2 separate regions of the Homo sapiens genome follow, and region 2 is linked to region 1. Evidence: promoter capture Hi-C in 16 types of primary human blood cells and fetal thymus (Javierre and others, 2016). All regions are on one chromosome and are shown on one strand. The core of a region is centred on a gene start or on the middle of the fragment in contact, and the rest is flanking DNA. Distances in the headings are between cores, read along the strand shown.

What was found. Contacts are between HindIII fragments. The CHiCAGO score rates a contact against its expected background, and 5 or more counts as called.
Region 2: a fragment that was not itself captured here is called in contact with the fragment with the promoter of CD163 in region 1 in 1 of 17 cell types (total CD4 T cells); the score reaches 5.2 in total CD4 T cells.

What each region holds. Positions count from the first base shown.
Region 1 is chr12:7,502,501-7,507,612 of GRCh38, reverse strand. CD163 (CD163 molecule) reads left to right here and starts at 3,836. Exons shown (of 17, transcript NM_203416.4): 1 at 3,836-3,968; 2 at 5,049-5,112. The coding sequence starts at 3,923. The HindIII fragment of the contact is 3,696 bases long and covers 282-3,977 here.
Region 2 is chr12:7,262,651-7,267,078 of GRCh38, reverse strand. No RefSeq gene overlaps it. Among named protein-coding and RNA genes, the nearest start is that of ACSM4, 39 kb to the left of the region's middle. The HindIII fragment of the contact is 3,417 bases long and covers 1,064-4,428 here.

The DNA.
Region 1 (5,112 bases), core at 2,587-5,086:
CCAACCAAAAAAAGTCCAGGAGCAGGTGGATTCACAGCCAAATTCTACCAGAGGTACAAGGAGGAGTTGGTACCATTCCTTCTGAAACTATTCCAATCAATAGAAAAAGAGGGAATCCTCCCTAACTCATTATTTTATGAGGCCAGCATCATCCTGATACCAAAGCCTGGCAGAGACACAACCAAAAAAGAGAATTTTAGACCAATATCCTTGATGAACATTGATGCAAAAATCCTCGATAAAATACTGGCAAACCAAATCCAGCAGCACATCAAAAAGCTTATCCACCATGATCAAGTGGGCTTCTTCGCTGGGATGCAAGGCTGGTTCAACATACTCAAATCAATAAATGTAATCCAGCATATAAACAGAACCAAAAACAAAAACCACATGATTATCTCAATAGATGCAGAAAAGGCCTTTGACAAAATTCAACAACGCTTCATGCTAAAAACTCTCAATAAATTATTGATGGGACGTATCTCAAAATAATAAGAGCTATCTATGACAAACCCACAGCCAATATCGTACTGAATGGGCAAAAACTGGAAGCATTCCCTTTGAAAACTGGCACAAGACTGGGATGCCCTCTCTCACCACTCCTATTCAAGATAGTGTTAGAAGTTCTGGCCATGGCAATTAGGCAGGAGAAGAAAATAAAGGGTATTCAATTAGGAAAAGAGGAAGTCAAATTGTCCCTGTTTGCAGATGACATGATTGTATATTTAGAAAACCCCATCGTCTCAGCCCAAAATCTCCTTAAGCTGATAAGCAACTTCAGCAAAGTCTCAGGATACAAAATCAATGTACAAAAATCACAAGCATTCTTATACACCAATAACAGACAAACAGAGAGCCAAATCATGAGTGAACTCCCATTCACAATTGCTTCAAAGAGAATAAAATACCTAGGAATCCAACTTACAAGGGATGTGAAGGACCTCTTCAAGGAGAACTACAAACCACTGCTCAATGAAATAAAAGAGGATACCAACAAATGGAAGAACCTTCCATGCTCATGGGTAGGAAGAATCAATATCATGAAAATGGCCATACTGCCCAAGGTAATTTATAGATTCAATGCCATCCCCATCAAGCTACCAATGACTTTCTTCACAGAATTGGAAAAAACTACTTTAAAGTTCATATGGAACCAAAAAAGAGCCCACATCCCCAAGTCAATCCTAAGCCAAAAGAACAAAGCTGGAGGCATCACGCTACCTGACTTCAAACTATACTACAAGGCTACAGTAACCAAAACAGCATGGTACTGGTACCAAAACAGAGATATAGATCAATGGAACAGAACAGAGCCCTCAGAAATAATGCCGCATATCTACAACCATCTGATCTTTGACAAACCTGACAAAAACAAGCAATGGGGAAAGGATTCCCTATTTAATAAATGTTGCTGGGAAAACTGGCTAGCCATATGTAGAAAGCTGAAACTGGATCCCTTCCTTACACCTTATACAAAAATTAATTCAAGATGGATTAAAGACTTACATGTTAGACCTAAAACCATAAAAACCCTAGAAGAAAACCTAGGCAATACCATTCAGGACATAGGCATGGGCAAGGACTTCATATCTAAAACACCAAAAGCAATGGCAACAAAAGCCAAAATAGACAAATGGGATCTAATTAAACTAAAGAGCTTCTGCACAGCAAAAGAAACTACCATCAGAGTGAACAGGAAATCTACAAAATGGGAGAAAATTTTCGCAACCTACTCATCTGACAAAGGGTTAATATCCAGAATCTACAATGACCTCAAACAAATTTACAAGAAAAAAACAAACAACCCCATCAAAAATTGGCGAAGGATATGAACAGATACTTCTCAAAAGAAGACATTTATGCAGCCAAAAAACACATGAAAAAATGCTCATCATCACTGGCCATCAGAGAAATGCAAACCAAAACCACAACGAGATACCATCTCACACCAGTTAGAATGGTGATCATTAAAAAGTCAGGAAACAATAGGTGCTGGAGAGGATGTGGAGAAATAGGCATGCTTTTACACTGTTGGTGGGACTGTAAACTAATTCAACCATTGTGGAAGTCAGTGTGGCAATTCCTCAGGGATCTAGAACTAGAAATACCATTTGACCCAGCCATCCCATTTCTGGGTATATACCCAAAGGATTATAAATCATGCTGCTATAAAGACACATGCACACGTACGTTTATAGCGGCACTACTCGCAATAGCAAAGACTTGGAACCAACCCAAATGTCCATCAATGATAGACTGGATTAAGAAAATGTGGCACATATATACCATGGAATACTATGCAGCCATAAAAAATGATGAGTTCATGTCCTTTGTAGGGACATGGATGAAACTGGAAACCATCATTCTCAGCAAACCATCGCAAGGACAAAAAACCAAACACCACATGTTCTCACTCATAGGTGGGAATTGAACAATGAGAACACATGGACACAGGAAGGGGAACATCCCACTCCAGGGACGGTTGTGGGGTCAGGGGAGGGGGGAGGGATAACATTAGGAGATATACCTAATGCTAAATGACGAGTTAATGGGTGCAGCACACCAGCATTGCACATGTATACATACGTAACAAACCTGCATGTTGTGCACATGTATCCTAAAACTTAAAGTATAATAATAATTTAAAAAAAGGAAAAAAATATATATATAATTGACAACCCTCATAAGTACAGGCTATCATGAGTGCATATTTTCTGGGGTCTTTCAGCGTTAGAGTTATTTCTCCTAGTGAAGGGAGGTTTAACTGAGAAATAAAGTATACGTGAGTGAGAGTTATCTTAGAGAAAGGTACGGGTAGGGAGGCAGTAAACACAGAAGGAACAATATGTATGACATACCATGAGGCAGGGAGAGATTTGGCATGCCTGAGAAGTGGAAGAAAACTGGGGTGCCTTTGTTGACTGGGTTCTAGTGAATGTCTCTCTGGAAGGCTGGAGTTGCTCTTTAATTCCCCATTTCAGGCCCATCACTAACACCTGACAATATGTATGCCATGATGAACTATTAGTAGTTCTTTTGAGCTTATATGTTTTTATATACAAATATTCATTTGTATGTGCTATTTTTTATGCCTTAAACTCCTTTATCATTTGTCCCTTTGGCAATGTTTTTCTCATCTTTTAGGACACAATTTAAGCCTGTCCTCAGAGAAAATAGTTTTCTGACTGTTCATTCCTTTCTCTCAATAGATAGGACTACTTTGTCCATTATTTTTAACACTGCACTTTAGCTTTATGTTCATTGTTGTTATCATATGTGTTTCTCTTACTTGAATCTGAGTTATATAGAGCTAAAATCATGTGTTGCTAATTTTTGTTTCACCATTTGTAATATCAGTAATAGTCATGGCTAATTCTCTTGGTGTACTTCATCCCATTAGAAAAGAAATGACAAATGCTGTGTCTCAACAACTTACACAAAATTACTCATTAGACACATTTGATTATGGAAATAAAATTAAAAGTGCATATGATAAAATGTTATTTAATTATGTTTTGCCTGTTTTGCTTTAGTTTTTTACATAATTTTTCTACATGACAATTAGTAATTTTTTGTGTCTTATATATTTGTCCAAAATGAAGTTCAAAAATGTAAAATATTTAATTCAGCAACAGCAGCATATGAGTTAGTATTTCCTCTAATTTTTCGAAATCTGTGGGAAGTGTTTCCCAATTTCCTTTGGTTGTTTCATGTGCTATATTGAAGAAAACATGAGTATGAAATGGAACCTCAGCTCTTTCAATGACTTCCCTTTTTGAGTTGACTCCGCCTCCATATGTAGCCTTTTCATTTTCATGAAAGTGAAGTGATTTTTAGAATTCTTAGTTGTTTTCTTTAGAAGAACATTTCTAGGGAATAATACAAGAAGATTTAGGAATCATTGAAGTTATAAATCTTTGGAATGAGCAAACTCAGAATGGTGCTACTTGAAGACTCTGGATCTGCTGGTAAAAGCTTCTCATTTATTCTACATTTCCCCTTTAATGGGGTATGTAATTATTATGACAGTCAATGGATGTGATTTAAAAGTGATTGGCATCAGGAGAGTAAGGAGTGGAAAAAGGACATAGGCTTATATGGCAGCACCTTTGATCTGCCATAGATTCAAAATTGAAGATGTGATATGGGAATCAGAGTCGGCATTAATTTTGTAAAACTGCTGAGGTGAAATTAAGTCAGGAACTAAAGTTAACTGAAATGTACTGAGTATGAAAAAATAGTTGTTAGAAAAGATAGAATATGCAGAAAGGAATATTGATAGAGAGTTAATTACATAAAGAAAGTTATCTACTCTGATAAGTGAGTTATCTATTTTAAGACTTATTTGGACATGTTAAAATCATTTAGCATTTTTAGTTTTAAATTAGTGTTGGGTTAGAGTAACGAGAAGATATGAGAGTAATAACAGCATTAAAGAGTGTATTATGTGATAAGGATACAGGTAGAGATGACAAGATTTAATATTTGAGTTTTTCAGATATGGATATCATCACTTAGGTATTGTTCTGCTAGCTACTATTTGGCAAGCATCAAGCCAGGTACTGGTGAAATTATGGTGAACATGATAGATATAATTCGTTTACTCATGGAACTTATCCTCTATCAGTGCGGCTAGGTAGTCTTAAAGATGGGGGCATCCATAATTGAATATCAAGGTGGTTAGGGAATAGAGAAATCTCAGGATACCTTCCCTGTGCCTGCTGGGAGAATTGTCCACTACTAAGTTTCATTGATGTTGTTTCCATTTTCCAGGTTTTAAGGGTTGACCTTGCAATTCTCGTTTCCACCACCAACCTTCTGCTAATCCGTCACCTCTAGGTTGCCTATAAACATGAACATTTTCAAAACCATTTCACTGAAACTATATGAGCCTGGGTATGAATGTTTTCTGCCTGCCTTGCAATTTAGAATGAAGAGTTTTCTGTCTTGGTTTGAGCTTCTTTGTTAATTAACCTCTGAAACCATCTATCTTCTCCAAAGTCTCTTTTTGGGAAGATGCTACTTTTGCCCTCTTTTCTTTTTCACAGACTTCAGAAGACATTTTGTCAACTTGAGTCCCTTCACCATTACTGTGGTCTTACTTCTCAGTGC
Region 2 (4,428 bases), core at 1,523-4,022, 240 kb after region 1:
CTAATTCCTGGACAACTTTCTCCTGAATTCAACTTCTCAGTTGCTTTTATCTAGTATTTGGGGCTGAAGTCATTCGACCCTTTCATTTGGGATCCATTTGGCTCTTTGAGCATCTCTGAAGTTTTTGAATGCTGCAAATGGATTGCAAGAGCTGGAGTCTCCCTTCTACAAGGAGCAGGAAGTATTTCATGCTTGCTTTCTTGGTTATACAGGCTTCCTGTGGGACTCACTTGCTTAAATGAGGAAGGCAAGGTAACAAGTCACCATTGGATTGCCACCAGCCCTTTAATGATTCTTTTGGAAGGACTAAGTTTTCTTCCAGTTATAATAAGCACCAGGGACCATATGAACATGCAGCTTGATCATCAGCTGGGCCTTTAGGGAGCATACTCCATCCCTGGCAAGTGAGGAACTAAAGTAATTATAGCCCAGTATGGATTTCAAAGGGAAAATGGCAAATCATACAGAATAGAGAATATACCCCTTAGGTAAGCTCCTTGAACAAGAGGCTGAGAATGTTGAATTACTCCTCAAGGTCTTATAATCACATCAATCCAAAACCAGGTGCCTATAAATCATCAGAGATCTGTTTCACTTGAAAACTGTCCACATAATAATTGCAGGTATTCTTTACATGCATATAGTACATTGTAATTGCTGGGATCTCATGTGTTATTATTTTATCTAATCCTCACAAAAATCCTGTGAACTAGGCACTACCAGTACTATTATTTTATAAATGAGGAAACAAGCTCTGAGAGGTTAAGTAAATTGCCTAGGACCAAGCCTTATTTTCATGCTTGATTCTTTGTCTTTATTATTATTACCAACTTTCAGCATAACAGGTTGGTACCCTACCAACTTGCAGTGGTGACTAATGAGTTTTTAAAGTATGATTGTGAACTCATAAATATGCAATTATATATATTTATATACATATGCATACATATGTAGTCATTTTTTTTAATGCTCAAATTTTTGTCCCAAAGTGACTCAGGAGGGAGCCCCTTCAGGCTGGTTTCTGTGTCCCTTTTTTGACATGACTCAGTTGTCTTTGGAAGCTTTCTTATTTTCTGGCACAAATAAGATGTCCCAGGTTCATCTTGTACATTTCCTGTCACAGTTCTGAAGTCAGCCATTTCGCTAAAGAGTTCTGGTTTCCTTTAGTGAGAAATAGTATTTGACAATCAGTAAATCAACCATTATTTGCTGTTGAGCTTTACTAATATAAGAATGACTAACCACATTAGGCCTTGTATAGTCTTAGACTAGTAACTAACATTGTTGGCCCACAGTGCACAGTACCAGAAAGGAGCCGTGAGGCAAGACAGGAAGCTGAACAGACCTCCCTCCTTTGTGACTTAACATTATGTGTCTGGATCAATCTATATTTGGTTGAAACCCAGGATTATTTACTACTCAAATATTTACTAATTAATGTACTTTGTATCACACTCAGTGAAGAGTTTAGAGGTACACAAGGTACAGATACATAACAGCACACAGTTATTGGAATAAAGGAAATGGGAAAGTGTTGGAGGCCAAAAGAATGAGGGTCATGACCAACTCAGTATACCACTGGAGGCTATATGAGCAAATAGCAAACTGTTCTCATGAAAGCGGGAGTTGGCAAACTGGCAAACTGCATCTGCTGCCAGAAGGAATGCTGAGGCAGTCACGCCCCAAGCGCAGTGTTCCTTGTGGTTATCTATAGGAATATCTGAAGCCTGTAGTATAAAAAAAGCAATTAGGTGAACCTGTGATAAATCAAGCAGCTGACCAACCATTACCTTTCCTCCCTGTTGATTCTACGTAATAAATACAAAGGGCTGTAGAAGCTCAGGGCCCTTGCTCACTAGAAACAAGGAGCCCCCCACCCCTTCTTTTAAAACAGATCTTTTGTCTTTGTCTTCATTTCTGCATTCGTCCTCCTTCGTTCAGTCCCATAGTAACCGTCACAGGAAGGGGCTGTCACTCTGTCTTTGTCCCCTTAGGAGCTGATGGCACATACATTAGACAATAGCTAAACATGAGTTGCAGTATTTTCTATGCAGACAGACCAGTGAGTCAAAGATGGTGCTACCATAGACTCCAACCTCTACCTCCTGAGACTTCTGGCCTGAGAGGATAATTGCCTTAGGGAGTCTGCTCTTAAACAGTACTCAGATCTTCAGAGGTTTTCAAGAAGATGAAGGGATTCAGATGCCAGATGTGGTGATCAAAACATGAATTCCATTTCTTCCTCTAGGCCAGTGGGCAGAACCCCAGGTGCAGCCAGAAGAAGAAAGAGCTGTTGTTTCCTATGAATGGAAATCAGAAACCAGTATTTAAGGGTTTAATCCAAATTAATGATCTGCATTTCAGGGCCCCAGATGGTGTAGGTTGGATTACCCCATATATTGCTTCAGACTTTACCCTGTCAGTAAGTGGGGGGTGATGGGCTTGTCACATTTCTTATTTATTCAGCTGGATGAACAGATCATGAGAAATGGGGAAAGTCTATACTGGAACAATTAAATGTTTTTAGAGCCATGTCATTATCTTCCCTCACGCCATTGGAATATAAACTCTATAAAAAGGGAGATTTTTGTCTGTTCTGTTCACTATTCTATTTTTTGCACTTTGGACAATGCCTGGAACATAGTAGCTTTTTTATTTGTTAAATAAATTAATATATTTCTCCCAGAGCAACATCAACATGTGTGGGCTCTTCTTTAGGGACCTTCCTTTTGCCCTTGCTTGGCCCACATATGCATCTTTCTCCAAGGGAGGTATTTGTGGTCTGGATGTGGCTATTCTGGAGTTTCTCATTCATTAATTACCTTGTCAGATTGAACAACTGACATCCTTTGTACTGAAGAAATATCTACAGGAATGTTTTCTGCTGATGGACTTAGAGTTTTCCACTTTTAATAGATTTATTAGCAACAAAATAAAGCACATACACAACACACACACACACTTTTGGGCATGTGTGATGCATAAGTAGAGCTGGTAATTTGTCATCTCTAGACAAACTCAGAGAGGAAGGATGCAGTTTGTATCAGTCAGGATGAACTACGCTATGCTACATAATAAAGAATCCCCCAAATCTCCGTGGTCTATAACATCACAATCTTTTGCTCTCACTACTTGTTCAGCATGGGTTGGCTGAGAGATCTTCTGTGACCTGGCTGATAGAACAACCATTATCTGAAGGATCGCCCATCATAAGTGTGGGAAAGGAAGCAATTATGTGCTCCAGCCTAGACATGGTATACATCATTCCAGCTCATAATTCATTGGCCAGAGCTTGTCACAAGGCCCAAGTGGAAATTGTAGTACTATCTGGGGGGTTGATATGCTTTGGATCTGTGTCCCCACCAAATCTCATGTTGAATTATAATTCTCAGTGTTGGAAATGGGGCCTGGTGGGAGGTGATTGGATCATGGGGGCAGATTGGATCATGGGTGCTGATAGCCAGTGAGTTATCATGAGATCTGGTTATTTAAAAGTGTGTAAAGTATGTAGCACCTTCTCCCATCTCTCTTCCTCCTGCTCCGGCTATGTGAAGTGCTGGCTGCCCCTTTGCCTTCTGTCATGATTGTAAGTTTCCTGAGGTCCCCCAGGCAGCAGAAGCTGCTATGCTTCCTGTACAGCCTGCAGAACCATGAGCCAATTAAACCTCTTTTCTGTATAAATTACCCAGTTACCCAGTCTCAGATATTTATTTTTCTTTCTTTTTTTTCAGGTATTTCTTTATAACAATAAGAGAATGGACTAATACAGGGGTGGATAGCTGGGTAATAACTACCACAGTTGTTTTACCACAGTGTTCTAGATTGATTTTATTTCTGGAAGTTTCTTTCTTTCTCTTTCTTTCTTTCTTTCTTTCAACTTTGTTTCTTTCCTCCTTTTTTTCTTTGCCAATCTCTGGGAAATCATTTTTTCTCTGAGACAGTTTTTCACACTATTGCCCAGGCTGGAGTGTAATGGTGCCATTGTGGTTCACTGCAGCCTCAACCTCCAGAGCTCAGGTGATCCTCTCACACCGGCCTCCTGAGTGTCTGGGACTAAGGACATGTGCCTCCATGGCCGGCTGGTGGTAGTTTTTCATAACAGAACCCAAGAGCACTTTCCTAGAGAGCAGTAGTTTAAATATTAGACTGGCCATTTTGTAACCTCAGCAAACTAGGTCTTACAGCAGCAATGATCATAGACTTCGAATCAGAGAGACGCACCTCTGCTACTTAATAGTTGTGTGGCATTACATAAGACACTAAATCTCTCCAAGATGAGTACTGTCATCTCTAAATTGGGTCTTACTCACAGATAAGATGAAATTGTTATGAAGATACTAGACCATCTAGTGAATTGCTTAGTATACAATATCTGGTACATATTACCAATTCAATACATGTTAGTTAGCTTGGAAGATAGAAAGTCTT